Regions from separate parts of the Homo sapiens genome. Here region 1 is linked to region 2. The links are contacts of gene promoters, found by promoter capture Hi-C in human tissues and cell types (Jung and others, 2019). All regions are on one chromosome and are shown on one strand. Each heading gives the region's core, a stretch centred on a gene start or on the middle of the fragment in contact. The rest is flanking DNA. Distances are from core to core; before and after follow the strand shown. Region 1 overlaps MVB12B (multivesicular body subunit 12B). Region 2 holds the start of OLFML2A (olfactomedin like 2A).

Region 1 (4,597 bases), core at 2,088-4,587, 1.7 Mb before region 2:
ACCTGAGGGCCTTCGACAGAACCCCAGGGCCCGCATGGTCCTGAAGGGCGGCAGCTCAGGGATGGGAGGGGAGCTGGAGCCTCCGCGAAGCCAGCAGGGGTTTCCTGTGAGGCCAGCTCTGGAGTCTGAGGACCCAGACTCAAAACCAGTCTCAGCGCCTCCTGGCGATGCAGCTGCGGGTTAAATCCCTTCCTCATTCCCTCGTCCATTAAAAGCGGCGGCCCCCGTAGTGGGGCTGCGGGGCGCTGCACTGAGAAGAGCAGGGAGCGCAGGGCACCGGGCCTGGCTGGGTATGTGTCCTTGGAGCCCTGGCCGAGGTGGCAGCGCCCGGCAGCAGCACATTCGCGAGGGCGATCTTGGGACGGGGCCACCGAGTCACACGTTCCGCTCGCGGCTGCTCTGCCGGTAGCCACGGAACAGTGTGGTGCTCTCTGTGCTGCCAAAACGAGGGGTGCGAGAGCGGGGCCGCCTGCCTGCGACCCAGCAGAGGTGCAGCTGCTGTGTCATTAGGCTCTAACCACCCCACTAAATTCTCCCAACTGGAGCTGGTGAGCAGGACAGAGCTGCCTCTCCCAGGGAACGGCGGCAGAGGCGCCAGCGTCGCCATGGCAACGCGGCCCCGTGGAGTCGGCTGAAGTTCCTGGAGCTCCGCATGTCACATCACGAGCATTTTTCAAGATTAAGCTGCTTACCAGAAGGGTTCAGAGGAGGCCTATTCTATTTCACGAAAATGGAAACTACAGAGCAGGTCAAATCGCAAGCCGGGTGGTTTTAAGCTGGATCCAAGAAAAACACTAAAGGATTCTTTAGCTGTGCCCAAGCTGGGGCCTTCATGTTTATTAGCTAGTCAAGGCCAACTTCTGCAGAAAGGATCAAAACCAGAAACGGGTTTGCTGAGCCAGCGTGGGGCAAGCCTGCGCAGCTGGGAGGGGGCCACTGCCACCTTGGGGGCTGGCGCCATTGGAGGGCTGACCCTAGCAGTGAGAGGCAGAGACCCCACTGCCATGCAGGGTGGCCGCCCCTCACAGTCTGAAGTTGGCCTTTGGTCCCGGCCAGCTCACTCGGTCCCTCTGATAAAAAGATGGCGTGAGCCTGGCCTGCGTGAGAGTGCTGATGTGGATGGTTGGGTCCATGCTGGACTGGCATGGGCAGGAGACCACAGCTAGAGGCACCACATTTGCATGGCGGCCTCCGTGTCAGAGCGCAGAATGCAGCTATGACAATGGGAAAACGAGGCAGCCTCCTTTCTACAGGAAATTGTCATCCTTAAGTAAGAAAGAACAAAACTTACTAAGTTGGACTTGGGAGACAAAGAACATTCACAACCAGGGAAGCTCAGGTCGGGTTAATCACGTGCGGCATGGCAAAGGCTCAGTGCACCTGAGCTTGTCTGACAGCCTCTTGCTACTTTCCCATCCCCCAGCTGTTGTTTTCTTCATTTCTCAAACACCTACTACATGGGGCACTGGCTGATAGGGCCAGAGATGCACACGACCCACCCCCCAACCTCAGGAGTTCCTGTCACTGGGTTGCAGGGTTCAGCTTCCAGTGGGAGAGAGGACACGCAGGCGGACAAGATTCCGGTAGGGGAAGGGGCGTGAGTACTGCCAGAACAGCCCTGCGTGCTGTGTAAATCAGGATGGAGGGACCTCAGGCTGGGGGGTGGCAGAGGGGAAGGGCGATCATGCATAAAACTTACACTTTCTGGAACACAAGAAAACTTCTCTGAAATCATAAAAGGCACACCATCCATTGCTGCAAAAGAAGAAAAAAAAAGATGGCATTAAAGGTATTGAAGATGGCATTTAGTTGTCCAGCAACTGAAGATGTCGAAACAGAGAATATGAATCCGTCACTGGATGGAGCCAGGTGACATCCAGCACAGATGTGCTGGAGCTATGAAAGAGGACAGGTCCCACCCCTGCTGCCAGGACACACAACCTACTGAGAGAGGCAGGCGCCTCGTCATCCCCTGAGCACCAGGCAGTTGTGTAGACAAGAGCTCTAGGAGCAGAGAGCGGCTGGTCCAGAACCCCTACTCTCCACCCCTGGAGTCTGGTCTCTGATCTGTAACGGGAGAGTCACCAGGGGCTGGCAGCAGGATGAAGGTGACACAGCTGGCAGGGACAGGCTGCAATGAGATGAAGGCAGTAAGCACGTGCATTAGACATGCTCTAAGGTGCTGTTGGACTCAGGGGAAAAGACTAAGTGGGAGGAAAGAGGAGCTCAGGAGTCAGATTGGCTGGGTTCAAATCCCAGCTGGTGACTGCAGATGAGCAACTGAAGTTGAAAGACGAAAAACTGAAGTCACATTTAAAAAGATGGCGCCACCTACATGACAGGGTGCCTGTGCATCAGAAGTGGAGTGTGTGGGGCACCTGGCCAGCGCTGGCACAGAGCAGGTGCTTGGCATGTGGGGGCAACAGTGGCTGTCGCTCTCAGTCACTCAGACCCAGGGCATCAAGGGCTGACTAGAGGCTCACCAGTGTGCTCAATTTTAACAGGACACGAGAAAAAGGGCATGGAACGGGGACGCAACGATGGAGAAACCAGGGGCCTGGTTCCTTTTCTGTGGCCACCCCTCCCTCCGCCCTGTCCCAGGGGATCGCTTTCAAAAGCACACGGACAGAAACGACCCAGGGTGTGCCTCCGTAAGTGAGCACTTCTCTATGAATTATAACCTCAGAGAGGAGGACTCTGGTGCCACACCAGGACTGGAAATCCTGCCACATTGAGGAACAGGTCACACTGGACGAGACGTGATGCCGGCATTCACAGAGCCAACGTGGCAGCCATGCGGCTGCTGGGACAGTGGTAGGGGCCTTTCCAGTGTTGGCTTCTCCCTTAGGTCTGGGAAGAGTCGGGAACATGCAGCCGCAGTTGTTAGGGGCCTGGTCATGAGTGCAGGGACGCGGAGCCCCGAAGTCAGGGGTGGCCGCACCCTGAGGTGGTGGCTATGCAGTAAATTGTGGTTTCAGGGAGAAACGGAGTGAGCACAATGGAAGCAAGGTAGAGCATGGGGGCAGCGTCGGGCAGTGCGCTCCTGGGACCAACAATCTTTGCTTCCCCCAGTGTCTCCTGGAATGATGACTTCTCTGGAACCTTCAGTGGTCATATTTTTTCTTTCTCAGTCCTAACACAGAAGAGTAGCAGAAGCAGAAAGCAGCAAAGCAAGAGGAAAGGACATAAGAGAAGAAAAAACCTGGAACGGATCCTCCCAATCAGCAAGAAAAGCCGAATGGCTCATGCTACGTTCATACAGGGATAAAACATCATAGAACTCTGCTCACACTTTATTTTAGGGAAGGAAAGAAACGAAACCTTCTTGGATCAGCATGAAGAAAAAGACACAGCACAGGTGGCGGCAGTCGCTGCATTCCCCGCGCCCTCCTCTCTTGGAAGGGCCGCTGCCCAGTGTGGCTGCTGGACTTAGACAGAGACTCCTGGTCAGAGGCCTTCTCCCATTTCAGGTGGTGCTGGCAACCTGCTGTGAGCTGACGGAAGAGATGGGACAAAAGTCCCGAACAGGCAACACTTCCCCAGAAAGTGGGGTGAGGGGAAGGCCCCAAACAATCTCACTCAGTACGTCCCGCATTTGGGCCTCAATCTCGTTCAGTACATCCCGCGTGCAGACCTGTGTGTGAACTCTAAGTACCTATGCGTGTATGCTGCTTCACAGATGAAAAAGTTCAGCAATGAATAAAGGAGTCTGGAAGAGCCACAAAGCCTTCTAGAGAAGGGCAGAGTCAAGTCCCACCGGATATCCAGGAAGAGGTGTGCCAGCTCCCACCACCATCTGCCTGACCTGACTTCCATGCCCTTCCTAGTGCTGCTGAGATGGGCCGGGCACTCGTAACACTTCCGATCATTTTAGAGATTGGGAAGCAGAGGCTCTGAGAAGTCGGTGCTTGCTGGGGTCACAAAGGTAGGCAGCAGTGGCCCCAAAGCTCTGGATAGTACAGGCTACTTGACCTCCCCAGTAAAGTCCCGAAGCCCACTCTTCACCTGTCATGGTCCTCACTTCCCACTCTCTGCCCACATCCATCTCTTCCACAGCTTCTCTTGCCTGCTAGACAGACAGCAGGGTCCACAGCAGAGTCCTCTCTGCACGCCCAGGTACTGTGCACAGGCCCTGGCAATTGCTCCCCTGCAGAACCCACTCACCATTCATTCCCCAGACTTTCTGCCTCTGATGTTTTAAAGACCTTATTAGTATTTGGGAGTGAAGAACTGCCTCTCACTGGTGACAGTTGTTTCTATCTACATGTCACTGTATGTCTAGGGATCCTGTGTGTTACGAAGGTGGTAAGGTGATGTGCAAAGACCTGATTACATCAGGAACTGAGGGGGCTGAGAAGTACTGGGGGTGGCAGAGAGGAAGGGGGCTCCTCCCATGGGAGGCCTCCCTAGTCAGAGGCTGTCAGTACTGCCTGTGCCTCCAATGGACAGAGAAGGGCAGGATTTCCAAGATGGGGGTCTCGACTGGCATTGAAGGCCCTGGCCCCTTGCACCTGACCCTCTTCCCGGCTTACCCATCCCTTCCCTCCCTCTATGCTTGTACCTCAACTGTCCTTCCCAGTCTTCTGAGTGCCTCTCC
Region 2 (4,641 bases), core at 759-3,258:
TAAACACCCTAGTTTCCCCACCTGTAAATTAGAAAAAATACTCATTCCCTCCTTGTCTCTGGAGTACATGAGCAGCGTTGTACGTGGGTGCTTTCATGCCCTGAGCTGAATCAGGCTGAGAGTTGGCCAGTGCCCACTGCTCATATACTCACCGTGTGGCTAGTGGCTTCTGTCTTTTATCTGTCCGTGGGCAGGCAGGACACTCACATTCTACCAGGAAAGAGGCTGGAGAGGTATTGGAAGTCACTTTTTTGCCCTCACGCTCTGTGACCAGGGCTCTGGTCCTGCTCCTCACTCTCCCCAAGGTCTGTCCGTTTTTTTTTTTGTTTGTTTTGTTTTGTTTTAAGACACAATCTTGCTCTGTTCCCCAGGTTGGAGTGCACTGGCGCAATCTCCACTGACTGCAACCTCCGCCTGCTGGGTTCAAGCGATTCTCCTGCTTCAGCCTCCCGAGTAGCTGGGATTACAGGTGTGCACCACCACACCTGGCTAATTTAATTTAATTTTTTTTTTTTTTATAGAGACGGGGTCTCACTCTGTTGCCTAGACTGGTCTTGTGCCACTGCGCCCAGCTAATTTTTGTATTTTTAGTAGAGATGGGGTTTCACCATATTGGCCAGGCTGGTCCTGAACTCCTGGCCTCAAGCGATCCACCTGCCTTGGCCTCCCAAAGTGCTAGGATTACAGGTGTGAGCCACTGAACCTGGCCATCAGGGAGTCATTTCCAGAACACCCCAAGTGCTCTGGTGCTAAGTATTTTTTTTTTTTCTTTTTTTTTTTGACACGGAGTCTCGCTCTGTCGCCCAGGCTGGAGTGCAGTGGCGCGATCTCGGCTCACTGCAAGCTCCGCCTCCCGGGTTCACGCCATTCTCCTACCTCAGCTTCCGGAGTAGCTGGGACTACAGGCGCCCACCACCATGCCTGGCTACTTTTTTTTGTATTTTTAGTAGAGACGGGGTTTCACCGTGTTAGCCAGGATGGTCTCGATCTCCTGACCTTGTGATCCGCCCGTCTCGGCCTCCCAAAGTGCTGGGATTACAGGCGTGAGCCACCGCGCCCGGCCTAGTGCTAAGTACTTTACAGGCATGACCACACCGCATCTAGAGACCATCAACTGCAGGAAGTGGGTCCCATGATTCTCCCTGTATCTACAGGTGAATAGACGGAGGCTCAGATGGGCGATGGCGGATGAGAAGCGGATGTGCGACTGAACCCAGGTCGGCTTGACACCAGAGCAGATCCTCTTAGCCACAGCAGAGAACAGCTCAGACCACTTCTGGAGCTACCTAGTCCTCCAGGGGGTGCACCCGGTCCCTGGCAAGAACATCAGAGGCCAGGCGAGTGGCCAGCGCGGCTGCGTTCATCGGGTAGAGAAGACCCCCAGTCCCCAGCGGGCCGTGAAAGCCGTGGCCCAGGGCTTGCTGCAAGCCTGGGAGTCGTTGGGTAACAGTTGCCAGGAGCTTCCCCTACGAACCCCGAGTCTGGCCAGCACTCCGGGGAAATCCCCCGACCCCTCCGGGAATCGGACCCGGTCCCAGCGCCCCTTCCTCAGGCCCCGGGTCCCTAGCATCCCTACATCTCCAGCGCTTGTTCCTCCACGCGCCCCTCTCTCGGGGCCCCTGCCCCTGCGGCTTCAGTGCTGAGAAGTCCCAGGTTCGGTCTCTCAGCTCCCGGCTCCTCCGCCCTGGCCCCGGGCTCCCTCCCGGGCCGCACCCCAGCCACAGCGCCCCCTCGCGCCCCGCTACCCGCCGAGCCGCGCGGGTCCGAGGGGCGTGCGTACCTTACTGTCGGCGCGCGTGGGGCGGCCGCTCAGCAGCAGCACTAGCGGCAGAAGGAGCAGCGGCCGGGGCGGGAGGGCGGCAGCGGCCATGGCGCCACGGGCACGGTAGGCACAGGCGGCCGGGCACGGACGCTGGGAAGCGCGGGCTGCACTGCGAGCTCCGCGCCTTCGCCCGCTCTGCCTGCCCCGCGCCCCGCGCCTGCACCCTGCTGCCAGCCCCGCGGGTCTTCCAGCGCCGCCAGGGGCGGAGCTAGGGCGGAGGGGGCACCCCGCCCCGCCCCGCCCGCCGTTCGCGGGGCCTCCCCGTCGTCGGGCGGCTCTCCCAAGGGCATCCCTGCCCGCGCGCCAGGGTGGGTCTCGATCGCAGCCGGCAGGAGCAACGGGGCCAGGGCGAGGCGCGTGGGCTCCTCTCACGGACTCAGGTCCTGTCCTGTGAGTCGTGGGACCTTGGGCGTGTCCCTTCACCTGTGTGCCTCAGTTTCCTCATCTGTAAGATGGGGGACTCGTGCTTTCCTTTTGGAGTGTTTGTAAAGTTCGCATGAGAGACGGATGTTCCCAGGGCACGTGAGCCCTTGCGCTCTCCGATTTCACCCACTTCTGGACAGGGACCTGACTGCTGTAAGCCTTCCCAAGGCTCAGCAACCCCAACCTGTCTTCCGTCTTTCATTTCTCCTTCCCTCTGGAATCCCTCCTGTCGGCTCCCAAACTCCAGTAGCTTCCGGCTTTTAAATTTTTATTTTTCTCACTCTGTTGCCCAGGCCGTAGTGCAGTGGTGCGATCCCAGCTCACTACAGCCTTGACCTTCCCAGCTCAAGTGATCCTCCCACCTCAGCCTCCTGAGTAGCTGAAACTACAGGTGTGCACCACTACACCTGGCTAATTTAAAGTTTTTTTTTTTTTTGCAGAGACGGGGTCTCACTCTGTTGCCTAGACTGGTCTTGAACTTCTGGGCTCAAGCAATCCTCCCACCTTGGCCTCCGAAAGTGTTGAGATTACAGGCATGAGCCACTGCACCCAGCATTTCCTTTTTTTTTTTTGACTGGGTCTTCCTTTGTCACCCAGGCTGGAGTGCTGTGTTGCGAATACAGCTCACTGTATCGTCAACTTTCCAGCTCAAGCTATCCTCCTCCCTCAGCCTTCTGAATAACTTGGACTACAGGCATGTGCCACCATGCTGGCTAATTTCTGTATTTATTTTAGGGATGGGGTCTTCTGTGTTGCCCAGGCTCTCAAACTCCCGGGCTCAAGCAATCCAGCCACCCTAGTCTCTCAAAGTGTTGGGATTACAAGTGTGAGCCACCATGCTTGGTCTCATTTTCTTCATAGAATTTATTGCTCAATGGGACTGTCTTTCTTGTTGGTGTGTTTGTTTCCTTGTGTTGGAGCATGACTTCCTAGGGCACATTCTTAGTTTCTCCCCATGAACATTGAACTCAGTGGTTCTCAAAGTGTGGTCCTTGGTCTCAGCCTCCGCATCATCGGATAACTTGTTAAAAATGCAAACTCTCCCAGCCTGGGCAACATGGTGAAAACTCGCCTCTACTAAAAATACAAAAATTAGGCTGATGTGGTGGTGCATGCCTATAATCCCAGCTACTCGGGAGGCTGGGGCAGGAGAATCGCTTGTGAACCCGGGAGGCAGAGGTTGCAGTGAGCCGAGATGGCACCACTGCACTCCAGCCTGGGCAAGAGTGACACTCTGTCTCAAAAACAAACAAACAAACCCAAAAAACAAAACTTAGCTGGGCGTGGTGGCACATGCCTGTAGTCCCAGCTACTTGGGAGGCTGAGGCACAAAAATCACTTGAACCCAGGAGGCAGAGGCTGTAGTGAGCCAAGATCGTGACACTGTACTCCAGCCTGGGTGACAGAGCGAGACCTTCTCAAAGAAAAAAAAAAGAAAAAGAAATGCAAATTCTTAGGCCCCACTACAGACTCACAAAATCAGAAACTCTGGGCATGGAGTCCAGCAATCTGTGTTTTAACACACCCTCCAGGGCTCCAGGGGGCTTAGGGTTTGAGAACCACTGACCTGGCACAAGGTACGGTGCTCTACAACTCTCAGCTGAATTAAAGAACCCTGTGCAAAGCACACACTGAGTACAAATAAGCTGCTGCTGCTTCTTTTTTTTTTTTTTTTTCTTGAGACAGAGTCTTGCACTGTCGCCCGGGCTGGAGTGCAGTGGCGCAATCTCGGCTCACTGCAATGTCCGCCTCCCGGCTTCAAGCAATTCTCCTGCCTCAGCCTCCCAAGTAGCTGGGATTACAGGTGCCTGCCGCCACGCCCAGCTAATTTTTTGTATTTTTAGTAGAGACAGGGTTTCACTATGTTGGCCAAGCTGGTCTCAAACTCCTGACCTCGTGACCCGCCCACCTCGGCCTCCCAAAGTGCTGGGATTACAGGCATGAGCCACTGTGCCCATCCACAAATAAGCTTCTTCTATAACTAGAGATCCCCTGGGAGGCATCAAAACCGGGGCTAGATTAGTGTAAAAAGTAAATATCGTGTATGTTCTTATGGACATAGACTATCTGAAAAACAATGCAAAAAGTCAGCACGGTGGTTCTAAGGAGATCCAGGGAGTAAGAACTTTCATTGCATCCTGTGGGTTTTGTAATGTGTGTGTCCTATGTATTCAAAAACGGGACAGAGCGTACTTAAAAGAAATCGAAGCCGGCAGGGGGGATTCCCTCCCCAAGCCCTTTCTTGATGAACTGCGGCCTTGCTCTGACTCTAGGCAGGACAAGGAAGAGCAAGGCTGCCGTCACTAGAGGAACTCTGCCCCCTGCTGGCTGTTCCCCCACATGACCTGATAATCTCTGGCTGCCTCCTCTTTACCCTTCTCTCTCTCAGTGGGCTC

The links. The method cuts DNA at HindIII sites, captures the fragments that hold promoters and counts their contacts. A contact is called where the count stands out against the background at its distance.
Region 1: a contact is called between a fragment that was not itself captured here and the fragment with the promoter of OLFML2A in region 2, in 1 of the 25 tissues and cell types used here (dorsolateral prefrontal cortex).

The regions. Positions count from the first base shown.
Region 1 is chr9:126,478,527-126,483,123 of GRCh38, reverse strand. It overlaps MVB12B (multivesicular body subunit 12B), which reads right to left. Exons shown (of 10, transcript NM_033446.3): 8 at 1,700-1,755. Among named protein-coding and RNA genes, the nearest start is that of NRON, 70 kb to the right of the region's middle. RefSeq lists a silencer at 460-754. The HindIII fragment of the contact is 8,937 bases long and covers 1-4,597 here.
Region 2 is chr9:124,774,500-124,779,140 of GRCh38, reverse strand. It overlaps OLFML2A (olfactomedin like 2A), which reads right to left and starts at 2,008. Exons shown (of 8, transcript NM_182487.4): 1 at 1,781-2,008. The coding sequence starts at 1,870. RefSeq lists silencers at 1,635-1,934, 2,005-2,104. The HindIII fragment of the contact is 24,652 bases long and covers 1-4,641 here.